Linked DNA regions of Homo sapiens: region 2 is linked to region 1. The links are contacts of gene promoters, found by promoter capture Hi-C in human tissues and cell types (Jung and others, 2019). All regions are on one chromosome and are shown on one strand. The core of a region is centred on a gene start or on the middle of the fragment in contact, and the rest is flanking DNA. Distances in the headings are between cores, read along the strand shown. Region 1 holds the start of FMNL2 (formin like 2). Region 2 has its middle 340 kb from the start of RPRM.

Region 1 (5,746 bases), core at 3,153-5,652:
ACAAGCAGTTGTGTTTCTCCTGTCCAGCCCACCACCACTGGATTACCCTGTGTGCAAGTCCCCCCAATAAGCCCCATATATATATCTCATTCTCTGGCTCTGGGTCATTCTCTGGGTCTCTTCTTCGGCCTCTTGAACATGGTGCCCTTCCTACTGAAGTCAAATAGGGGTCTGGCCATGACACTGACATTGCCCCTTCCCCCCTGCTTTCTGCCTGGAATACAGGCAGACTTGATTCATAGCACCCTGACTGATTCATAGCACCCTGACTGTTATTTTATAAGTACATGGGAAAGGACCAGGCCATCCTACAGATACTGGCTGTAGCCTTACTGAATTGCCAAAAAAAATTTGGCAGCTACCTTTCTCCATATTTCTTGTCATATGAGAAAAATATATTATTTAAGACATTATTAGTTGGGTGGTGAAAGCATTCCTAATTGATTCAGGAGGAGGAGGGGAACTGGAGAGTTAAGTTACATCTTGGTAAGTTAACTGTTTAAAGAAGGCTGTATAAAGCAAAAGGGAAAAAACTCATGTTTAAAATTTGTTTACAAATCAAGAGCAGTGCCTGGCACATAGTAAGTGCTCAATAAATATTCTTCAAATAAATGTAGGTGAATATGTCAATCTTGCAGAACTGTTGTAGATGTAAATTGACAAATAGCAATCCCTCTAAAATCCCAGCTAGTTCTACTTCACAATTTTGATTCAGGACTATCAATAGTTGTATTTTTCACAGAGCACTGACCTCATTTGTACATAATTACACACACAAGGAGAATCTTAGGGTTACTACTCTGTAGCCAAGTTCAGTTAGCCTTTCTAAGACACTAAGTGAACTTACCTGCAGAGCTGTTCCTTACATTTAGAACCTGAGGAGATACCAATAAAACTTAGCTCCAATCCCTCAAACAGCTGATCTTGTAGAAGTATTTGTCCTGAATAATGGAAAAGCTTCTTTGAAAGCAATCACACCATTGTAGAGGAATCCCAGACCAAGCCATCCCTGGCATAGCTTGGAAATGCACATAGAAGATAAATGTTCTAACATTTCAGTGTCCCTGGAAGCTAAGTACAGTTTTAATAGACATTTTTCTTTTTTTCTTTCTTTTTAAGATAGGACCTTGATTTTGCTCTGTTGCCCAGGCTGGAGTAGAGTGGCACACCTATGGCTCACTGCAGCCTCAACCACCCAGGCTCAAGCAATCCTTCCACCTCAGCCTCCCTAGCAGCAGCTAGGAAGACAGGTGGATGTCACACACCAAAAATTTAAAAAAATTTTTGCATATTTTTAAACATTTTAAGCCATTAGGTTTTAAAGGTAGTTTTGTTACATCACATAGATAATAGGTAAAAATATCACTTTATAGTACTTACGATTTGCAAAATATAGTATCTTCTGAGTCAGGGATCAGCAAACATTTTCTGTAAAGGGCCTGATAGTAAAAACTTCAGGCTTTGAGGGCCATATGGTCTATGTCATATCAACTCAACTCCATCCTTGCAGTGCAAAAGCAGCTATAGATAGTAGGTAAATAAATGGTTTTACTGTGTTCCGATAAAACTATTTATAAGAGTAGGCAGATGAATGGATTTGGTTTACAGGCATAGTTTTCTGAATTCTGTTCTAAGTTGACAGTCTAGAAGAAGGTATATAATTCTCATCTCATAGTATGCATCCAATTATTAATAATTAGCTTCTTTGTTGTCTTCAGAAAATTCTGTATGGGAAGAAATCTTGCAGGCTTTGTTATAAAGAATATCAAACTGGCACAGTGGCTCACACCTGTAAACCCAACACTTTGGGAGGCCAAGGCAGGAGGATAGCTGGCAGCCAGGAATTTGAGACCAGCCTGGGCAACAGTGAGATCCCATCTCTCTTTCCCATGATTCTTCCCTTAGGGTAGGCGTTCTGCATGCATGGTGCTCTTCTTACCCTGGGGAATTGAGCACACACAGTGTGTTTAGGAAGTTGTATGCATGCCCATACAACTGGCTTTCTTTTTCTTTTCTTTTTTTTTCCAGTGGAGTGTACCTGGAAGATCATACTTCGCCATTTTTGTCTCTTAATAATTTTGCATTTTTCTTAGAGATGGAGTTTCTCCATGTTGCCAGGCTGGTCTTAAACTCCTGGGCTCAAGCAATACTCCTGCCTTGGCCTCCCAAACTGCTGGGCTTACAGGTGTGAGCCACTATGCCCGGCCCAGACATTTTCTTTTTTGCCAATATTTTGCACATGAGCTGTAACAAATCATATATAATAATAATAATAAATGGAATATACATTTTTAAATGATTGCTTGATTTTAATTCTGTGGGGAGGAAGAGTGCTACAATTAAGGTAATAGAAATGTCTTTTCTTTCCTTTCCCTCCATGCCGTCTCCCCGCAAAGAATTTCCTAAGATTTTGATGGATTCTTATAGAAATTGTACAAGCCTATGGAGTGTTTATTTCTCCTCTTAATAATCACAAATAACAACCAAATATTAGAGATTCCAAACATTGAAATGGCAGGAAAGTTCTTTTGGTTCATAGATTTGCACACTTTTTCCTTGGCTTCCCTCGAAGTGTGAGCTTATGAGAGAGACTAGATGTGATAAGACGTAAGGGGAGAAAAAGGTCTTGGTTACTGGCAGAAATATAGCCGCAGGGAGACATAAATGTAATCAAAAAGGCTTTCTCAACTGCAGAAAAGAATTCCAGCCTTTTTTATCCAGATGGGCAACCCTCTGGGTGGGCTGATTTTGTGAGTCAATCAGATCCAAAGTATATGTCTAGAGATTACAAGGAAATAAATACATTTGTGGGTCAGAAATGTTTCACCTGGTCCGAACTGCTTTCTTTCTCTCTCATTTTCATTAGTTTGGAGTGTGTGTGTATCTAAACCGCCCTGCTTTTCTCTCAGATCAGTAACACATTTGCTATTAACTTTGATACAACACTGCTTTAGAAATACAGGTTACAGTTATTCAGAATTTTAAGTTGAATTTATTTATACTGTCTCCATTCTTTAAAGACTAGAAGTGGTTTAATAGAACATACATGATGTATTTGTGTGTATTTGTGTCATATGCTTTTGGAAAAAGTCACTTGTCAATTCCACAAATAGTTCTTGGGCGTCTACTATGTTTAAAGTATCTTGAAGTTTATAAAGATGAATGAAATGTCCTTGATTGAATCTTGGTGTACTACCTTGTCCAGAAACACTTGCTATTTACTAAAAGGATAACAACCTTACCTGCATATCAAAATCACCTGGGGAGCTTGTTGAAAATACACCGGCCCAGGCTTCGGCTCTCAGCTTAGGGAGATTCTGATAATACGCAGAGCCCAAGGTGTGTGTAGTTTTAACAAAAAGCTTCCCAAGCGAATCTGATACACATCTAGGATTAAGAAACACTGCTTTAAACTAAGAAAGGACTAACTGCAGAAGTTCAGCCACAAGTCAACCAGATGTATGCCCTTAACATTCACATGAGCAGTTGGCTAAAGTCTCTTATAAGGCTATTTCTATTTCCGAGGTTTCAGAACGGGTAGTTATAGTCTGAAATACACCCCAGAGGACAGAGTCAGGTCCAATCTTTTCTGTAAGACACCTTGCTCAAGACTGCTGTGAAGGAATAAGAGAGCTGCAGCCAAAGATCATCCCAAAGTCTCCCAGAACACTCTATCATTATATCCATCTCACATGAAATATGGGTGTGTACATTTTTTCCTTCACTAGATTGGCAAGTATTCCAGCGCAGGGCAAATCTCTTTTTTCTCCCACCAAGGAACACAATATCCCATACATAATAGGTGTTTGACAGGTTTTTTTTTTAAATTGAATTGAATCCTTACCTAGCTCCTAGGGTCTGACTATATATACCCATAAATTATACATCTGTTTATAAAACATTTCAATCACACCAAAGAACATATATATGGAAGAAAGAACGATAAACAAGCACCCATGGACCCACCCCCCCGTTTATGAAACAGAACTTTGCCAGTGCTTTCGAAGTTCCTTACTGAACTAGATCTTTTAAAAACAGCAACGATTTTCTGAATTTTAATCAGAAGGCATGCATTCCTTCATTCATTGATTCGATTCCGTCATGGTCAGACCCGCCTACCAAGTGTCAACATGATATACACGATGTAAGTATTCCACTGTTGGGGTGAGGAGGGTCAAAAGTGACAATATGCTATCTCCAGAGACTACGGATCGCCTTTGCTGCAAATGGTCCCAACCCGGCCTGGCGCTCTAGAGCAGGCGTGGTTTCTGCGCGCGGACACTTTGGAGAGAAACTACGCGTCCCGGCAGTCCGCGGGGCGAGTGGGCGGAGCCGGGCCGGGGGCGGGGGCCGGGCGCCGGGCGAGAGGTGGCATTGTGTAGGGGAGCGCGGAGCTGCATTTGTCTGCTCCAGGTGCTAGCCAGGCAGGCGCAGCCGTGGCCGGCTAGGGCTGGAAGTGTCAGCGGCGGCCGCGGGCCCGGCAGAAGGCCGAGTAGGAGGGACCACGCGCCGGGGGCCGCGATCTCTGGCAGGGGGCGGTGTGCCAGCGGAGCACCATGCACATAGGCGCCCAGCGCCCCAACTACCCCTCCCGAGGAAAAGAGGCCGGGGCCGCGCTGGGGCGGCGGAGAGCATGAGGGAGGCCGGGGGGCGGCTCGGCTTGGAGCGCTGCTAGGGAGCGGTGCGCGCCGCACACCCGCCTGGGCGCGGCGGAGGGCGGGGAGCCGGGCAGGTCGCGCCTGCGGGCGGCAGCCGACCGCCGGGAGCTGTTCTGATTTCCGACGCGCACGCTAGGGGCCCGGAGCAGCCCCCGGCCCCGGCGCGCCGCCGACATGGGCAACGCAGGGAGCATGGATTCGCAGCAGACCGATTTCAGGGCGCACAACGTGCCTTTGAAGCTGCCGATGCCAGAGCCAGGTGAACTGGAGGAGCGATTTGCCATCGTGCTGGTAAGTGCGCGGCGGCGGTCGGGCGCGGGGACCCGGGGCCCCGGGCCGGGCGGCGCAGCTGACCCCCGCCCCTCCCCTTCACCCCGTGCCGGGAGCGAGCCTCCATTCCCGAGGGGGAGGCTCCCGCTTTCCCCTTTGTGGCCCCCCAGCACTCCTCTTCACCCCCCTGGCAGTCCCCCGCGCTCAGTCTCTCGGGGTCCCGGGATGGGGATGGGGGCTCAGGGCCGGCTGCCCAACCAGCCTCGAACCCATTGTCTGGCTGGAGAGGCACCTCACGGCGCGTGTGCCCGGGAGGTGCGGCGTGGGCGTGAAGAGAAGGTGGCGCGGGCTGGGAGGAGGAGGTGGCGAGCCGCTTAGGCTTTTTTTTTAAAAAAAACAAAACAAAACAAAACAAAACAAAACACCCTGAGCCCCTGCGGACCATCCCTCGGGCGGCCAGCCCGGGACCTGCGAAGTCCCCGGCAGATGGGGCGCATGTGGCCGGCCGCGGGCGCCGCGCCGGGCGGTGAGCGGAGGCGAACTTGGAGGGCTCACGTCGCGGCTTGGCCAAGGGGAGCTTCCCCGAAAGGGAAAGCGGAGACCCACAGCAGTGCGGCGCCCCGGCCCTTGGCGAGGAGCAGGGGCATCTGAAACCCAGGCCGGGGAGAACCTCAGCGCGTTCCCTCTAGACTTAAATCTTAAACCACAAAAATGTGGAGTTTTGCGGGGACGTGTTGCGAGCTGTCCTGACTGCACGGGCGACCCCTCCCCTCCTCTTGCACGCCCAGCCAGGTCCCCCGCTCCCTCCTGCATTCCGC
Region 2 (5,661 bases), core at 2,096-4,595, 810 kb after region 1:
TGGCTTGAGTCTAGGTTGTAGGACCCCAGAATCTATGTCTGTTAATCCCTGTTTTACAGTGCTCTCCAAGTTGAAAAACTCAGAGTTTTACAAATGTTAATATAATGAGTGCCTTTTATGTAAAACATATGTTAACCACCACAAGGAACTTTGCCCTCAAGTAACTTTTCTCTTACCAAGGGAAGCTGAATACCCAACTAAGATGCACTTCTTCATTTTTGCATTTTCATTGAATTCACCGAAAGAAAACAGAAAGGGAATAGCATTCATTGAATACCTAAGGTGGATATGAATTAATGCTTCATATACATAATTGTTTAAAATGGCCTGAAATATAATTTACCAATTTAAAGTGTTTAATTCAACACCTTTCAGTATTTTTACAGAGTTGTGCAATCATCCCCATGATCTGATTTTGGAAAATTTCATCAGCTCCCCCAAAAATCCATACTCATAAGCAGTTGCTGTCCATTCTACCACTCTGTCCATCCCCTGTCAAAGAGAACCATTAATCTTTCTGTATCTGTAGATTTGTTTATTCTTGACATTTCATATGTAAAATCAGGAAATATGTGGTCTTTTGTGACTGGCTTTTTCCACCTGGAAGAGCATAATGTTTTCTAGATTCATCCCTGTTGTAGCAGATAGCAGTTTTTTATTTTCTTTTTAAATTGCTGAATAATATTCCATAGTATGGATATATGGCCACTTGTGTTGGAGTGACATCTGGGTTCCACAAGCAGGATGCTGGGCTGGGGCAGCCACCACTGGCCTTCTCAACTTGTCTGTCCTTGTGTGGAACCTCTGCCCTATGAATGAGCAGAGATAAGGGTGGGCTAGGCCTAAGATTAAAGGCCTATAAGCTTAGGTAGAGCTTCCACCCCGTGAGTTGGGGCAGGGTAGAGGAAGAGGCCTCCAGACTTCTCAGCTGTTTTTGTCTAGTATTAAAACCTCTGCAATACAGATGGTGGATAGTGAGGTGGGGAGATGCTGCAGTTCTCAACTGGGAGCTGGGAGAAGACAGAGCCCTGTGTTCTTGGTTCTACCTACCTGGAGTGGAGCTTCATCATGCAGAGCTGGGTGTGGTGAGGAAGAGACTTTTGCTGCCACAGTCTCTTGCTGTTTGGTAGGTTGAAGGTGTGTTTTCTTTTTCTTCCCACTAGTTACGACTGTTTTGCTGGGAGAGGGTCTCAGAGCTCCCCATACCATCATTATAGAAGTCATCTAGCTATGCATTTAATCTTTACAATTTTTAAGCCTATTTTCTCTGTTAATCATTAGAACAACCTAAGAGTAAGGTAGTAAACATCAGAGCCAGGGTTTGAATCAGACATTTGAATAGTATCTTATTGTGGTACATGCTTAGTAACATGTCCTCAATAAATTAATGAACCAAAAATATCAAGCAATACAATTTAGGAACGAATAAGCTTCCAGATGATGGATAGTAATAATAAAGGCTACTGTGGTTGGGTTGAGAGAGACATCATGAAGCGTTATTTTTGCTATGATGGGAAAAATGTAATTTCTCACGAACTGCTGAATTCTTTGTACCTAAACTATCGGTCTTTATGACCAAAATACACTGTACAGCCAGTTCATCAATTCTGCCATAGTAGTGGTGCTTAATTCATTGTGAGAGATTATGCATTTGGTGACTTCACATACAGAGCAAAACCCCTGGAGGGGAAGTGGCTACTTAATGTTAACACTGCTGGAATTCTGGCACCTTGGGGCATGTTTGGGAAAGCCGCAGGGAGTTTTATTTGCCCAGTGCCCAGTGGGATTGCTGGAAGTAATTGAAGATGATAAACACATGGAGGAAGGTAGAGAAAAAGAGCAATTTCTAAACATATCAAGTAATGTCCTAATGAGCAGAGAGCTTACCTTGGAATGATAAAAGGTTTAAATGGTCAGGCTCAGTTCAGGAAAACAGGCTGATGATTTAGGATGTTCTACTGTGGTATAACGTATATTATCTTTTAGCCCAATACCTGGGAATAATATGTCCCAATTTTAGAAAAATGAGAGAATGAGCGTGAGAGAGAGAAAGTGAGACCGAGAGCAAGAGCAAGAGAGAGAGAGAGATCGATAAATGAAATGGAGGTTTGTAGGCCTAGGGATATTGTAAGCTTTCTTTGCCTTTATTGTGGTGTTATGTATGGAAATGGGAAGATTGACAAGAAGTCCTATGAAAAATTAGTGAAGTTAGCCTGACAAGGGCCAATTCCCAAAGCTTTGTCTTGTTGAGCTCATGTTAGGAGATATGAAATCAAAAGCAGAAAACGGTAGGTGGGAGGTATTCTAGAGGCCCACTTAGAACTGGAAGGAATGATGTTAACATGGTGGGTCCTTGTAATTATGCAGTTTTGCAGGCTGTGGAGCAGTAGCTCAGACAGGGGTTCAACTTCCCAAGGAGAATATACTGCCAGTTGGTGAAAAGGAGAAGAGATAATGGGCAATGAAGAGAAGCTTCAAAGGTGTGAATGGAGAGGTAATCCCAGCAATGATAAAGGAAATCATTGGTGCCTGAAAAAGTGTGCAAGTGATCCCAGAACCACACCAACAAGGAAGGTACCTGGACAGCTGGCATTTTTAGGCTACTTCTGGTGCAGGCTCCCAGCCCAAGACTCTTGTTATCATCGCTCCACTCATTAACGATATGTCAAGCATAAGGCAGGTCGAATGTACATGTCTCTAATGGTAATTTCTCTTTTGCAAAATGACTAAAATTGGGAAACTTTTTTTAAAAAGGAAAAAATATACACCCTAATTTCTGTGCTTTTGTTTATGCCTCCTTCTATCCTTTCTTTTGCAAGAACTCTCTGGCTCATGCCCATTAATACCTGATGCCAGATACTAGGGTCCATGATTGTAATTTCATCCTGCCTGTTTCCTTCCAGAGCAGTTAATCTTTCTCTTTGAGCTATAATAACTGTGGTGCTGTAGTCTCAGAGCAGTGAAACCTAGTTAGACCTGGGCATGAAAATACTGCCTGCATTGAATTGAAACCTTGAAAAGTAGCCATAGTCCTTTCAGCTTCATTCATCTTGCAAAGCAAGTAGCAAAGTCTGCCAGATGGAAATAGTTTAATTTGGTAGATGGAAACATTTTTAAGACTTGTGGACTATATTACAAATGTTACTAGTTGAAGTCTCTTGCACAACTTAGAATTGTTTTCTCCTGTGCTGTATCATTTAGAAAGCCCAAAAGATTACTTTAAAAAACGGAGTGAAACAGAAAATCTGCCCCAGACAACTCTTGCAAAGTTTGCTGATATTATTTAGACATCAAACACTTTGTTATCAACTCTACTGGCTTAAAAGCTTTTCAAGTATTTTTTTCTGCCCTCAGCGTATCTTTAAATGACAGGCATAGATGTTTGCCTTCATTTCTTAGCATCCTCACCCTAGGCATTCATTGTCTAAGCACTGGAGTTTCGGTCATCACATGAATGCGTACGAAATACGCAGCCAAGTCCACTGTCCTTTGCCACCTCTAGCTCTCATGGGTCATTGGATAATTGGATATTTGAAAAGCACCTTGAAATAAGGGCTATAAATAATTCTTTTCTCCATTTTTAGAAAGCTCCATGGAAAGAAGGGTCATTGGAAAAATCCTTGGATCACCCTGCATGAAAGACTGGTGTTTATTTGCCTTGAAGTAATTCAGAGAGAAGGGAATATGGTGCAATGGAAGCAGGTCCTGAAGGAAAGGAGAATGGAGATCTAGTATTGGTTCTGCTACTAATTAGCTGTGTAAGCTCAGGAAATTCCCTTCACCTCAGGAGCCTGGATATGTAGAACAAGAAAGTTGAACTTGATAATCTCTAAGATGCTTTTTGAATATTCTGCAAACACTTTACTCCTATGCAACCTTCTTAAGTCTTCTTGGGCTCTAAATAATGTGTCCTAATTTGTCATTAGGTAAGTGGCTCCTCTGATTCTGTAGAGAACTCCAGAAGTGTATTTGAGCACTGGAACACTCAAGTTATCCATAATAGAAGAGAAGTAAGTCTGGTATGCCAAGATAGGAGGAAGAAAGAATAATTGGTTCTCAGGAAGTGACTGGCATAATCATCATACACAATTTAAGATACAAACTCATGGTCTGCTCTTGGATACGAAACAATCCTCTCCTACAAAGCCTACTGATAATAGAAGACTAGAAGAGGAAAATGTTCATGTCTGGGGAAAAGCAGTAATTAAGGCAATGGGCTCTGAAGTCTGACAGATCTGAGTGTGGGACTCAAAGTTACCAGTTTCTTGCCGAGTTAAGAAAACTCGGGAAGTTTTCTTAACCTCTCTGATCTTCACTTGCTTATAAGAGGGGTTATATTAGAAATTATATGCATGATTTTTCTAATACAATTATCAAAAAATGATATAAAGTATGCTTATCATAATGTCTGACAAATAGTGCATAATATGTACTAGCCATTATTCTTATAATTAATGATAGTCACTAGATGATAAAACTAATGTTTACTTTATAAATTACTCAATAAATACTTGCTATATATTTAGCACACTGTAGATATGAAGAAGTGAAAGGCATGGTTTTATTCCTCAAAACTTAAAATCCTATCTATGAAAAAATTTGTCATCTATTATGGTGCTGAGCATATATATAAGTGTATGGATTGGTGACTTTCAGTTTCTTACATAGCAATTTGAAAGGTAGGATGCAATAGTTCATATATTTGGTCGTTAGAACAAAATAGAACAAAGCAAAATTTCCCAATTACCTACTAATTTTAGCCAAACATCTATGAATACTATAATGCCGAAAAAGAAGTTTAAAAATTGTATTAATTCTGAAAACATGTATAGCCATGTACATTTTAATCACATTAACAAACTTACCAGAAATGGTCTAGTTTAAAAAATATACCTAGTTGGATTTCATTTCAAAGGTTGCTGATTATATAATAATAATCCTGAAAGTTGAAGCCTTGAAAAATTAAGCCAAATTCTAAAAATACTTCTTAATTGGATCATTTTGGAACCCCAGGTCTTTGATTCACATATAATTTTGGCATTGGGTTTTCAGAGTGTGTGACTATCAGGCACCTGGCAGAGATGGATTAGGTCCAAGTCCAACCAGATGCTTGGTGGCAGATGGCTCCCAGTGCAGTTACTCTAAACTTGGAATGTGTAAAAAGTTAAATGCTCAGAGGCTGAAACCTAATCCATTATGGGCATATGTGCTCTGAGTTTGGGGAAATCTGTGGCCATGAAGGATAGTATTGTATACATAATAGTGAATGAGGATCCATGGACTAGCATGACCTCGAACTATTAAAATCTATCTCTCTAGGTGATTCCCAGGATCAGATTTCTGGAACTCAACATAATAAACATAGCAGGAAGGAGCCACACTCATCATGTTCCAACTATTTTTTATGGCCCAGAGGAGAATGTGAGGTGTATTTAGCTTCATGTCTTGGGAAACTCACTGGGTTTCTGAGATGAAGGGAATTTCCTGAGCTTACAGAGTGAATTAGTAGCAGAGCCAATATTAGATCTTCCTTCTTTTCTCCATCAGGACCTATGTCCATTGCACCATGCTTCCTCTCCCTGAATTTACTCCAAGGCAAACAAACACCAGTCTTTTATGGAGGGTTTTTTTTTTTTTTCCAATGACCCTTCTTCCCATGAA

Evidence for each region. The method cuts DNA at HindIII sites, captures the fragments that hold promoters and counts their contacts. A contact is called where the count stands out against the background at its distance.
Region 2: a fragment that was not itself captured here is called in contact with the fragment with the promoter of FMNL2 in region 1 in 1 of the 25 tissues and cell types used here (aorta).

Annotation. Positions count from the first base shown.
Region 1 is chr2:152,330,772-152,336,517 of GRCh38, forward strand. FMNL2 (formin like 2) reads left to right here and starts at 4,403. Exons shown (of 26, transcript NM_052905.4): 1 at 4,403-4,949. The coding sequence starts at 4,833. RefSeq lists silencers at 4,203-4,852, 5,363-5,462. The HindIII fragment of the contact is 5,547 bases long and covers 2,160-5,746 here.
Region 2 is chr2:153,140,548-153,146,208 of GRCh38, forward strand. It overlaps a transcript of GALNT13 not described here. Among named protein-coding and RNA genes, the nearest start is that of RPRM, 340 kb to the right of the region's middle. The HindIII fragment of the contact is 4,398 bases long and covers 1,147-5,544 here.